Linked DNA regions of Homo sapiens: region 1 is linked to region 2. The links are contacts of gene promoters, found by promoter capture Hi-C in human tissues and cell types (Jung and others, 2019). All regions are on one chromosome and are shown on one strand. The core of a region is centred on a gene start or on the middle of the fragment in contact, and the rest is flanking DNA. Distances in the headings are between cores, read along the strand shown.

Region 1 (6,699 bases), core at 3,349-5,848, 550 kb before region 2:
GCCAGGCCTAGAGCATGCAGTACCTTAGCAGTCTGGGCTAAGAAGGAGATCAGCAGGTCAGACTCCACTCACCTGAGTGGCTGGCCTGAGGGGAGGTTGATGAGCTGATGTAGGAGAGTTCGGGGACTCAGACTGGAAAGGGGAAGGGCAGCACCCCCTACCCTGGTGGAAAGCATTAGGCCTATGTGGTTCAAGTGAGGCCAGGGGCCCGGGACATTCTTGGAAACCAGCCACTGCAGGGGGCATGGGTGGCTGCCATCCCTTCCATCACGTGTGTGCTGGAGAGCAAAGAGCTCACCCAGCCAGGGAGTGTGACAACATAACATCCGTGAGAATCATTGCATCCTGTCTCCCACCCCCAAAACCCATCCTAAGATAGCCTCACATGGCACAGCTAAGGCGATTGCTTCTCATGAATGCCAAGAGATGACTTGTCTTCAGCCTACCCACCCACCTGACTCAGCACCTCTACTGGCAAGCTCACTGCCCTGAACAGCGCATCCACACACAGGTGAGAGACCCCCCACGGGGCAATTGGAGAAGAACAGGGACCCAAAGACAGATGCACCTGCTGTGTGTGGTGGTGGGAAGTCTCCAAGGGCCTGGAGCGAAGACCCTTGCTAGAAAGGAGTGGCCTAAGGGCAGTGGTGAATTGGGAGATGCTGTCACCAGAAATGTAGTGGCATTGGGCTACCACACGTGGGCTTGGTCTTGTTAATCAGATTCACTGTTTGTCCACCCCCAAATTGATGTTCTACATTCAGTCATTTGTTCTTTTATTTATAAAATATATATTGAGTGCCGAAGAAGTGCCAGCAGCAGGGCTAGATGTCAGTCGGGACTACAGAGATAAATAAGCTGAGGTGCTGATCTCTACGTGGGGACAGGTGATGGGGGTGGGGTGCAGTGGAGGGCAAAGGGATGACACAGAGGGAGATGCTGCCAGAGCTGAGTCTTGACAGATAAGCAGCTGGGCAAGGGAGGGAAGATTCTCCAGGCTGAAGAAACAGCCTGAGAATAGGCATGGTGATGGAAACAGCTTGGCATATTACGGGAACTGTAAATATCCCCATGTGGGTGGGGCACAGGGTGCAAAGCAGGGTGAAGTGAGCGCTGAAGCCAGGGCCAGATCCTGCAGGGCGTGTTAAGCCCTGGGTGGGTGGTGGTGATGTCTGCCATGCTGGGGAGCACAGGAGGAGAAGCAAGTGTGGCTAGAGGGGTGGAGGGGGGCTGCTGAGAGGAGTCAGCTTGGGACATGTTGAGTTTGATATGTCTGTGGAGGGCACTGTCCCTGAGTCTCAGGGGAGCCCAGGTTGGCACCTTTTGGAACTGCCCGCTCCCTGCCAGTCAGGCTCCCCACCAGGGGGAGGCTGTGCTCCTCCTGAAGGCCTTTCACCTCCTGTCGGCCAGGTGTTATGTTAGCCCTCTGGAATGAAAGTGCAGAAAAACTGCAGAGATCTTGGGTGACAATGGAAGTTCGGAAGAAGGTGAAGAGGGCAGTGGCTCTGTCTCTAGCTCTCCAGCATGGGCAAACCCTCCAGCTCCAGGCTTCTTTCTGTCCCAGAACTGCTACCTTGCACAGCTCTAGGAGGCACCACTGACATTGTAATTATTGTGAAAGGTGCCCTGGAGCACCACTTCAGATTGGTCACCTACCTCGCTGGCCCTTAGGGACCCCCAGAGGGTGGGCTCCCGGTTGCACCTCTGTGGCTGTGGGTGCTGGTCCTCAGGCTTCCTGGCTCCTACTTCCCACCGAGCTCCCTCCCTCCCTACCCTCAGCCTTTTCTCCTTCCCCTTCTCCAGTTCCAGTGGGAAAACATTCCTCCTTCTCTGTCTCCCCCTCTGCTTATTATTGTCATATTTATTAGGATCACTTACTCTTTATTATCATTTTGAACATTATAGGAAAGAAAAATCCATGAAGATTTTTTAAAAATTTCTTTTCATCTTGTTAAGTTCACTCCTAGTTCTTAGCAATTTGCAGAAACTCATTTTTACATACCTGTGATTGGTAGGTTCATGTCCTTTTGTATTCTGCTTTGATCAAATTACAATATTTCAAAAACACATGACCCGAACGGAGAGCATTGACATACTTGTTATTATTGTCCATGTTTTCCAAGCTTTCTGTCATATTGCTTTATGAGTTTGCTTAACTGTTTTCCTATTGTTCGGTATTTGAATTGTTTCCAACTAGTGCAATATAATGGAATGGAGGGAGGTGGTTTCGGAGTGGGTGTGGGGATGGCTTTCAAGCAAAACAGGCGAAGATGGGTCACAGCACCAGCTCCTGCCAGAGAAAGGGAGCAAAAATGTAAGTAGTGGGGGCAGTTATAATGACTGTAAACAAGGACCAGGATAAGGAGGCACCTTTTGGCCCTAGAGGATCTGAGGTCCTGTGTCTGGAACTCGTGATAGCTGACTCATGGCGAGGCTGCATGGTGTGAGGAAGCAGGAAAACTGGGCAGAGATGTGGGCTCAAATCTTCACTCTGCTACTAACTTGGCCACTGGCATCCTGGACCTTTTTTGACCTCCTCTTCCTCATGCAAGACAGGTTGATAGCTCTCCATCTGGGGCTTGTAATGACCTAATCCAGTAAGATCATAAATATGCAAAAGCTTTGAACAAGTTGCAAATATTGTGCAAATGTAAGGTACTAAGATGTGGGTCCAGGCTAACCATGGAGGGCAAAGGAGCTATTGTTGAGAATTTGGAATTCTCTCTTCGCTCCGCTTCCCGGAATGACAGGAATAAGCAGAAACCCGTCTGCTGCAGGAAAGGATTGTCATTGCTGGTTTTGAGTACTTGTTGACATGTGGATGTGTTTCCTCAAAAGGGAGGGCTGACACTGCCCCAGCCATGAGAAATTGCTGCTTTCCTGGCCCAACCTGGCCCCGGGGTCTGGCTGTGTGACCAGCAGCCCCTTGGAACTTCCTCACATGCTTTTTTTCTAGGTTGGACCAGAGATCCTGATGTATCTTACTTCAGTTCCCAAAGCTGCCACACATTAAAGTTCATACTGAGAAGGCATCCACCAATTGTAAACAATGTTCAAGAAATCTGTTCTGATGACTGTTTGTGCTACTTTGTATGTTTTTTCCTGCTCTTAAGTGTGTATATGGGAGCGGGGAGGATGGAGGTGGGGATGGTGAAGAGTTTACCAAAAAAGTAGAAATTGTGAAACTGGCCTTGGACTTTGGCCTCTGCCCAGTCAGTTATTTACTGAGCATCAGCTTTGTCTCGGGAGCTGTGCTGAGCGCCAGGGATCCCACAGTAAACAAGACAGACACAGTTCCTGTCCTCATGGGGCTTAGAGTCCATAGCAGAGCTTTGTCAGAAAATCAAGGTTCCCAGTACTGTCTGAGAGGGCACACCCTCTCCTTGCTGTCTCCATGTGCCCCACCCTGAGCGGTCTTCCAGAGTGTGTGGCATGCTTCCTCTCCCTGCTTCTGAGGCTGTGTCTAGCCCCATGCTAGGGAAGGAAGAGCAGTCTCTCTCCCGAGTTCAGAGATGCTGACCCACCCTTGAAGTAGCCCCAAGTCTTTTAGAAGCTTCTGGGATACTGCTTCCCTGGCAGATGTGCTCCCCCAGGGCAATGGTGAGTGGGCTGGTGAGATGTAAGTGTCAGCTTCTGGGATAAGGGAGGACACTGCCTGTCTTTGCCTCTCCCAGGCCTGCCTCTCTACCCATAACCTGCAACCTGCCTCTAGGACTGGAAATAGTCCTGGAATCGCAGAGACACAGGTGGCCAGGATGGTTTGATATCCTGGTGGGTACTCCTTCAGGATGCCTGCTGGGGGCTAGTAGAGGATTTGTCTTGACTGGAAAGGCTCTGGGGCTGATGGAGTGGAACAGACAGAAGCTGCCATCTCCCAAAGCTCAGGTGCTCAGGGTCTTGCCCCTTTGCCCTGAAGGGCCCGGCCTGTGGCTGGTTTGCTGGAGCCAGAGGAGAGTGGTCGGCTGCTGGTGGTGCGGAGGCTGCTGCGGGGTGGGAGCCTGCCTTCCTCACCCTCTCTGGTGTGCAGGGCGGGCCCCATTGCATCACCCTTGGAGTCTCTGCTCCTGGCTTTGCAGCCAGCTGGGCCCCTGGAGGAGGGACTCTCCCTGTTTTTCAACAAACCATTAACCATTTCACCCTCTCAAGCCCTCCCTGCAACCAACCTGGATTCCCAAGGCTGCTCCTCATGCCTCTCAACCCTGGTCTTGAAAACCTCCCTTCTCCTCCACGATTCCAGGAGCTCTGCCTGGACAGCCTTTTAAGGGTTGAAGGCTCCACATGCACAACGCAAGCCTGGCCTCTTCCCCGGGGAAAGAGTTAAGCCTTGTCCTCCACACCCTCAGCATTTGTCCCATTCTGCAGCAGTGAGGACAGAGCTCTTCAGCCTCCAACATGAGCTCATGCCACTTCCACACTTCCACAGAGTCCTGACGGAGGGTCAACACAATATTTTAGACCAACGGCAACGATGGATCTCATGCCAGAACCAGGAGCTTGGACCTTGGCCTCTCCACAAAGGCCCTTCAGCCATTTCCTGCAGACCCGCTTGGCCCTTTGACCTCTTTATAGGGGTTCAGGGAAGGAGTGGGTGATGTGAGGGCCTGGAAGGGCTCAAGAGACTGATGGAAGAGAGTCGCAAGTACACAGTGTTTCCCTGTTTCTGTTCGGGCTAGATGAGGAGACATCAAGGGGTGGGGATGGAGAGGCTGTTCCAGTCAGTGAAGCCCAAGCCTCATTCCCGCTCGGGTCTTTTATCTCCCAACCCCAACATTCCCTTCATCGCCCCACCCATTCCAGGGCCTGAAATAGCCCGAAACTTCATCCAAGCCTAGGCCCAGGTCCCAATTTTAGTTCCACAAACATTTGGCTGCTCCATAGCTTGCAGGATCCTGAGCTGGGTCCCGTGGCGGATGCAGAGATGAATGAGGCCCAGCCCTTGCCTTCAGGGAGCTTGCAAAATGTGTCCAGATGACTGCAGTCAGAGGCGGAAGATGCCCGTGGAAGAAGAAAGAAAGACGCTCCCCGTAGAGGGAATGGGGCAGGCTTGTGAAGGAGAGTTGGTTTTGTTGAATCTTAAAGGATGACTAGGATTTCAAGAGGCGGACATGAGGAACACTGACTTTAGATGGAGGGAACAGCAAGAGCAAGAATATGGAGGTGTGAAATGTAGGGTATGCTCTGGAACATGGCCAGCAATCTGGTTTGACTGGAGCACATGGGAGAATGTGGAGCTGCTTGCGGTTTCTGTGGATGTGTGAGTCTGTCTAGATTCCCTACAGGCTGAGGGCTCCCAAGTGCCAATGACCCACAGATTCCCAGAGCTTTACAGAGCAGCCTATTTGTTAATCCTCTATTTAGGAACAGAAAGGTGAGAAACTTGCTCAGACTCTAAAGCACATTCGTGACACAGCGAGGACTGGACCCAGGTTCTCCCACCCTTATCTGTTTTGGCTCAGTTCAGGTCCCTTAATCCAGGAGGCTTCGTCCGTGGAGTTGGCTGACTCAACAGACTCTGCCATCCCTTAGGGGTCCAAGGAGAAGTATGAAATGAACAACCAGTGATCATGGATGAACACATGAATGCTCCTCATGGTGTTGCATATTTGCGTATTAATGAGGAAGGAATAGCTTCACGACACTTGATGGGAAAGACATGCCAGTATTTTTTATTTTCCCACATTTATTTAAATCTGGTCCCAAATCCCATCCACAGTGGGTGAAAAGTCTAATATCATTTTTAGGGCTTCCTCTCTTGGCTCATTGGATTTTACAAAAAATAAAACAAAACAAAAACCCCCAAATAAACAAAGAGTTCGTTCTTGCAGGACTGGAGCAGCTGGTTGGGATTCAGTGGAGCTCGCCACTGCTAATGGCTGCCCCTCAGACTGTAGGCAGGTCCTCCCTGTCTGTGGGTACTGCTTCTCCAGGCAGGCTGGGGAGCTGCCCACTCACAGTGGTCTCTCCCAGCAGCAAGCTACTTAGTGGGCTTTCTTCAAGCCCCCTCACCCCCAGCTCTACCTCAGGTTGTGCCATCCCCAGGGTGGAGGGAAGAGTTCCAGTTGGATCTCAACTGCTGCCACTTGTGGACACTCGTGATCTCCCACCCTCTTTCCTGGTGCTGGAAGTCACTGCCCACAGGTAAGGCTACTCTGCTTTTCAATGGAAAAACCACCTTCCAACCTCTTTGACATCCTGGACTTGAAGCCCTGGCTGCCCCCTTGGCAGGATGTGGAGAAAATGCTTCACATTCTTTTCTGAAGAGTCCACAGCCAAGAAAACCAGATATGGCTGATTTCTCAATCATGTTATTATGCCACACTAAATGTTCAATTAATCGCTATGTTACACTTACAACAGCAAAAGAAAAGTTCAGCAGTAAGTGACTAAAAATACCGTACAGTCATAGAAGGCCATACTGTGTAGCCTGGCAGAAGGATATTTAATGACATGGAAAGTTGTTCATGATAATATTGGTAGCTGAAAGAAAGCAGTTTTGAAAACAGCATCACGGTGTGACCCAATTTTTTGGTAAACATGAAATTATATATTTATATAAAGAAAAAATAACTGAAAGGTAAACACCAAAATGCATATTTCCTCTATGTGGTGAGATTACAGATCATTTTTATTTTCTCATTTTTGCTTGCTTCCTTTTTCAAAAATTCTGCAATGAGTGTGTATTACCTTATGTTGCTGAAT
Region 2 (7,313 bases), core at 2,999-5,498:
AGAAGGTGGGAGATGCTCCAGACTGTGATATAAGTCTGGCACCTATGAAGGAGAGAGAAAAGAAAGGATTGCACAGGCAGGGTCTCAGACTGCAGCGCAGTTCTAAGAAAATTTCAGCTAGGCTGATGGGGGCGTCTATAAGCCAAAGTTTCCCATTAGAGTAGTCCCAGATTATGCAGCAATGGGCCTGCATTAGTACTCTTGCCATGCTAAGTCACTGGCCAGAACTGTTCATTTTCTATTTCTTCAGGGGTTTGCAAGAATCAAAGCTAGCTAAACCTCTCTATATCCTTGAGTTAAAAACCTTTGTTATTTAAAAATACTCTACAAAGTGATTGAAGTAAAAAATGACACACAGGGAAGCAGCCAAATCTAAAATGTCTTTTTACATAAACAAATTGTAGTTACTAGAGATAAATGTGGATAAATGGATTTGGGGAATGTAATATTTAGAAAGAGCAAAGGGACCTAAATTTATTTGGAATCACTTTTTAAATTCTCCACATATTTTCTGCCTCACCCAGGAATGTCTGACACAAAGTACTCATATATGATGTTTGCTAACAAATGTGAGTATTTTCAACATTTATCGGGCTATTAACTTTACCAAACTACTTCATTTACTTCCAGTAGAATGACACAGCTTCCAATCTATAGTTGAAAAAGTATCTTTACTGCAATACAGTTTGTTTCATCTGTAAAATAATCATGGCAGCTTTCAATTAAGGATGATCTTCCTTTCTTTGCAAAAATGTGCAAAATAGTACCAAAATATTTGAGAACTCTCACTCTATGGGTGAACGCAGAACTTTTATTAATGTCTAAATAACTTACATTTCTCCAATGAGGAAGAGTCCGCATCTCTCAGTATATTTCACCTAAAAAGGTGTAGCCAACCAAACTTTTGTCTATTTTATTTAAAAAATTTAAAGAAATACAGTACTTAAAAACATTTTAAAGTGGCTATTTGAAATTCTGAATTTTCTACTTACTCTACTTCTCCAAGTCACACATATATTAATGTCTATGGAACTAGTATGCCTATAGCAATCAATCAATCAATCAATCCTTATCTGGAGGCCATTATCCTTAGCAAACTAATGTAGGAACAGAAACCAAATACCACATGTTCTCACTTACAAGTGAGAGCTCAATGATGAGAACACATGGACACACGGAGGGGAACAACACATACTGGGGCCTACTGGAGGGCGGAGGGTGGCAGGAGGGAGGGGATCAGGAGAAATGACTGGTGGATACTAGGCTTGATACCTGGGTGACGAAATGGTGTGTACAGCAGATCCCCATGGCACACGTTTACCTATATAACAAACCTGCACATCCTGCACATACACCCTGGACTTAAAATAAAAGTTAAAAAAATAAATACTTATTTACTAAACAAATGTATCTAGAGCATATGCCAGGTGCTAGGCTGAACAAGAGAGTACTGACCCTCAAAGAACTCACATTTCCATTATTTTCCTTTTTCCCCCCTTTAACTTAAAAAATTATTTCTGTTGTGGTAAAATATCCTAACATAAAACTTACCATTTTAACCATTTTTAAGTGTACAATTCAGTGACATTAAATACATTCACACTGTTGTGCAACCATCACTACAATCCATCTCCAGAACTTCATTATCATCCCAAACTGAAATGGTGTACCCATTAAACCCATTAACTCCTCATTCCCCTTTTCCTCCAGCCCTAGATAATCACTATTCTACTTTCTGTTTCTATGAATTTGACTATTCTAGGTACCGAACATAAGTAGAATCATACAATATTTGTCTTTCTGTGTCTTGAGATTTCGCCTAGCATAAGGTCTTCAAGTCTAATCCAAGTTGTAGCATGTATCAGAATTTCATTCCTTTTTAAAGGGTGAACAATATTCCTTTGTACGTACACACATTTTAACTTCAATTACTTTTAAATAGCTAATTTCTCATTTTATTTCTTTCAAAGACACATTATGCTAGCTGCTAGATTGTTACAATGCACTCTCTTGGGAGAAAAGATTTTCCTTCCTATCCACAATTACCTGCAGCTCCCCTTCATTTATGTTATATATAGCACAAACACATTTACCCAGAGGAGATTCTACATTCAAGAACATTTCGTAAGCAATTCACTACTGTCTCTGACATTGATAGGGTCTGCAGAGCACCATGGAACCCTGGGTGCTCAGGAAATATTATGCTAAAGTACCTACGTAGTAAAATAACTCCGTTTTTTTTGGTTTTTTTTTGAGATGGAGTCTCACTCTGTTGCTCAGGCTGGAGTGCAGTGGTGAGATCTTGGCTCACCGCAACCTCTGCCTCCCAGGTTCAAGCAACTCTCTGCCTCAGCCTTCCGAGTAGCTGGGATCACAGGCACCCAACATCACGCCCAGCTAATTTTTGTATTTTTAGTAGAGACAGGGTTTCACCATCTTGGCCAGGCTGGTCTTGAACTCCTGACCTCGTGATCCACCCACCTCGGCCTCCCAAAGTACTGGGATTACAGGCGTGAGCCCCTGTGCCTGGCCATAAAAGAACTTCTAAAGAGCAGCTGTAGTGAATTTACGACCAAGACTTTTCCATAGAAAATAACTGATAAGGTGAAAAAAAAAAAAAGCTTGTCAGAAAGCTGACAAGAAAGCTAAAAATTACCATTCTTTTCTCAGAAATCTAACAGATCCCAGAGGATTGCTACTTGGAGTTCTTCCTCAGTTTTATTAGTGCTAAACATCTGATTGGCCAGGGATGACCAAACTAAACTCCTACTGAATCCATGAAGGAAGTCAGAAAATAAAGGGTGGGGAAAACTAATCTTGGTTAATACTCAAAAGGCTTATTTTTACATTTCCTGCACCTTTGAAATGCCTTGGTGACTTACAAACCTAATCTAGGACCAAGAATGAACTTTACTGGAGAGATACAGGCCTTGAGAGGTTAAGGACTTGACTAGTGGTATCACATTAACAACTGGAAATGAGATGCTGGCATTTCCCTTTCCAGCATATACTGCCTGATAAATGATTTCTTTCCCCCGACTCCAGCTTTAAGGTGTAAGTGACAAATAGAAATTGTTCATGTTTATGGTATACAACGTGACGTTTTGATATACATATATATACACACACACACTGCAAATAATTAAATGAAGCTAATCAACATAATCCATCATCTCACATACTTTCCTGTGGTGAGAACATTTAAGGTGTACCCTCTTCACAATTTCAAGTACACAATATATGATTATTAACTATAGAACTCATCCACCTTCTCTGACTGAAACTTTGTATCATTTGACCAACATTTCCCTATATTCCCCACCCCCGTGCCAAGACTTCTTACTTGCCTTTCTTGAACAAATACTTGAATTACAGTGTTATTACGAAGCTGCAAAGTTGCTCCTCAAGCAACTTATTGAAGGGAAGCAAGAAGCGTCGAAAAAGAAAGCGCTTTTTTTTTTTTTTTTTTTTTCGGATAGGGTTTGGCTGTTGCCCAGGCTGGAGTGCAATAGCACGATCTGGGCTCAAAGAAAACACTTATTTTTCACAAACAACAGAAAAAGCAGTGAATATTTTGAAGTCTGGATCCTGAACTCTAGGTTATTTAGGTCTGAAACCTGTACTAGGGGGAGGGGTGCAAGAAAGAGTTGATAAAATTACCTTAACCATGTGGAAACTTTAAGACTTTCTTACATACTAACCCCTCGCCCCCCACTTTTCTCAATAAACGAGCCAAACTGGCTGAAACGAAGGGACTCGTCCGCGGCGCCGGCTCAGACCCACTGTAGCCGACTCATTACCGCCCAAAGTCCTGGAGCCCTCGACCGGGCATGGAGAACACCGTGGAGGAACCCTAAGAGAGGGAATCCTGCGAAGAGAAGTCAGGTGGTGGCCTTGCCGGAAACGGGACCAAAGTCCTCTAGCTGGGATTACGGGAGCCGGCGAGGGACCTATTATGTCAGGGTTCAGACAACCCAGCTCTGCATGCAAGCCTTTCCAATTGCCAGTCTTGGGGCGGGCTCACATCTTCTCTACAAGGCGAACTCACTACACGCCTTGGGTGCCTATCGTCCCTAGCAACCACCCGCGATTTAAGGCGGAAGTACCTCCCTGGTCCTCCTCCTCCTCCGGACCAACCAAGCCCTCGTGAGGAAGCGCGTTGGCCCAATCACCTAGGCGGGAACTACTACCAGCCAATAGGAAGCAGGCACAGGAGGGCGGGCTAAAGAGGTCGCGGTCGCACGCGCAGTTGGTCCTTAGTACTGCGGCCGTGTGGGTGAGTTGGCTGCCGGTGAGTTGGGTGCCGGTGGAGTCGTGTTGGTCCTCAGAATCCCCGCGTAGCCGCTGCCTCCTCCTACCCTCGCCATGTTTCTTACCCGGTCTGAGTACGACAGGTCCGTGCAGCTGGGGGACGTCGGGTGGGAATTATGGGTGGGCAGGCCCGGGACCTGGCCGCGCGGCCTGGGTTCTGCCGTGTCATGGGGCTCCCCAGGAACCCGAGACTGGCCGGACCTGGGGATGTTATGCCCTCCTCAGGCGCCCGCCGTCCTTCCCCAAGCTAGACCACATCGGCGGCACTTGTCCTACCGCTGAGTCACCCCTGGGTCCTAACTCGGTGCGGAAGCGAGAAGCTCCGGCTGGTGCTTGGTAAAGAAGGCGTGAGGAGCCGGAACTCCTACCTTGAACCCGGAGAAGGCCAAGGGTCACTCTTTGCTCCGTTCATCTTTTCGTGCCTAGTATGACTGCCTTGAACAAACAAACAAAAAGTTAAACGTGCTTCCTGGAAGAAAAAGCAACTGGTTTGTAGTAGGGCATGCTGCGGTGTATAGTTTCTTCAGAAGCGCGAAGGCAGTCGTAGCTTTGGCTGGATATATTGTCTGGAGTCTGATTTTATAGGAACTGGAATTTAGAATGGTTTTCAAGAGATTTCTCATCATGCCGATTCCAATTGACCAAAATTTTTTCTGACTTTTTAAAAGTTTAAAGCAAGTTTTAAAAAACTTTTGTGGTATGAAAATGTTCACAATATTAAGTTGTACATATATATGCTGTAGACATTTTTACTTTCAGTTTCTGTTTTCGTCAGTTAAGTTTTTACATAGCTACTCTTTTTTAAAGTCAGGGAAGGCAGACATTTTCTTTGTACTGAGTGGTATGAGATGCTGCATTTCCTGTCAAGTATATGCTGATCCTGTCGAAGTTTTACCACCTGCAGTTACCACTTTTTCATCTTTTTTACTGACTCGTAGAAGATGTGTGTGAAGTTTTGACATATTTCCCCACTGTCCTATAAAGTGACTTTGTTGGTCGATATTTAACTTCCAGAACATTGAAGAGAATCATCTTCGGGTGACATAATTTTGAGTTAGGGTGTGTATGATAGAAATTGTTATGCTTATCAGAAGGCATTTATTAAATTTTGTGGCCATTTACTTAACATATGTATTGACTGCTTTGTTACTTATTTTTCTGTCTTCCCAAGACGGCCTAAAATACATCCCTTTTTATTCTCTTAGTTAATGTGCTTGAGTGCTTGCTGTGAACAAGGCACTGTTCTAGGTGCTGGTGCTACAGCAATGGACAAAATCAAGCTCCTTGCTCGCATATAGGAGACTCTTTTGAGACAGTCTCGCTCTGTGGCCCAGGCTGGAGTGCAGTGACGTGATCTTGGCTCACTGCAACCTCCCCCTCCTGGGTTTTGTTTGTTTTTGAGACGGAGTCTCGCTCTGTCGCCAGGCTGCAGTGCAGTGGCATGATCTCGGCTCACTGCAACCTCCGCCTCCTGGGTTCAAGCGATTCTCCTGCCTCAGCCTCCCGAGTAGCTGGGACTACAGGCGCGCGCCACCACTCCCAGCTAATTTTTGTATTTTTAGTAGAGACAGGGTTTCACCATGTTGGCCAGGATGGTCTCGATCTTTTGACCTCGTGATCCACCTGCCTTGGCCTCCCAAAGTGCTGGGATTACAGGAGTGAGCCACCGCGCCTGGCCTGCCGCCTGGGTTTAAGCAATTCTCTGACTCAGCGTCCTGAGTAGCTGGGATTACAGGCGGTGCCACCACGCCCGGCTAATTTTTGTGTTTTTAGTAGAGACAGGGTTTCCTCATCTTGGCCAGGCTGGTCTTGAACTCCTGACCTCGTGGTCCACCTGCCTTGGCCTCCCAAAGTGCTGGGATTACAGGCGAGAGCCACCTCGCTCGGCCTGAGACTCTTAAAGAATTGTTTACAGGTACAGTGGCTCATGCCTGTAATTCCAGCACTTTGGAAGGCCGAGGCAGGATTGCCTGAGCTCAGGAGTTGGAGACCAGCCTGGGCAACATAGTGAGACCTCATCTCTACTAAACATTAAAAAATATCAGCCGGGTGTGGTGGCGCTGACCTTGTCTCCAAAAAAAAAAAAGAATTGTTTACAGAAGTAACTATAGTGTGAGTCAGAAATATATTAATGCCATTAGAGAAATTCAAATCAATACCATGGAAGTTTTGATGAGGGATTGCATTCAATATGAGACGATCATGGAAAACTTCACAAAGGAGCTGACATTTAAACTAGGTTTCTTGAAAGAGTAGGAATTTAATAAAGACAGTGAGATCAATAGTTGTGGGTTGGAGAATATGGGATAAATGAAGGAGGGGCAATGGAAAAGCACAATACATTTTGGGAAAAGTCCAGTCTGACTGGCACATATGATACGTGTATGGGAACAGCAGGAGATAATGGGAAAAACAGGATGCTGCTAGATATTGAATGGTTTTTAATACGAGGCTAAGGAGTTTGGGTCCTATTTCTGTAGGCAACTGTGTGCTGTTAAATAATAATTGTGTTTTACAGAGATTAATTGTCTGAATTAGGGGAAAGTGAGTCAATACCTGTTAGTGTTAGGCTATTAACAATAGTTAGGTGAAAGGTAATGAGGGCATTGAGAAGGAAGAGTGATGTGTTACTGTGGAGGAGGAATTGATATGAATTGGTATGACTTAGCATATAGTTGGATATGGGAAAAGATGGGGAGGAATGAGTCAGATCATTTAGAACTTCGTATGTTGGGAACACTGGAAGATTTGAGATGTTTTAAATTAAAACTGAAATTGGAATGGCAGGAGATGAAGTCAATTTTGCAAGGTGGCTGGATTTAAAGAGATAATATTTCAAACTGGAAAACGTTAAGTGTTAAGTGCTAATAGGATATGCAAGTGGAAATGTTCAGCAAACATTTAAATTAGTTAGGAAAGAGGTGAAACTGGTAGTAGAGATTTGGAAGTAACTTGTGCTTAGCACTCTCCCAGGCTGGAGTGTAGTGGCACCATCTCGGCTC

What was found. Contacts are between HindIII fragments. The study calls those that stand out against the background at their distance.
Region 1: a contact is called between a fragment that was not itself captured here and the fragment with the promoter of PSMA5 in region 2, in 1 of the 25 tissues and cell types used here (bladder).

Annotation. Positions count from the first base shown.
Region 1 is chr1:109,975,510-109,982,208 of GRCh38, reverse strand. No RefSeq gene overlaps it. Among named protein-coding and RNA genes, the nearest start is that of AHCYL1, 5.9 kb to the left of the region's middle. The HindIII fragment of the contact is 4,452 bases long and covers 2,373-6,699 here.
Region 2 is chr1:109,423,383-109,430,695 of GRCh38, reverse strand. PSMA5 (proteasome 20S subunit alpha 5) reads left to right here and starts at 4,248. Exons shown (of 9, transcript NM_002790.4): 1 at 4,248-4,394. The coding sequence starts at 4,366. RefSeq lists enhancers at 3,688-3,747, 3,254-4,185. The HindIII fragment of the contact is 7,725 bases long and covers 900-7,313 here.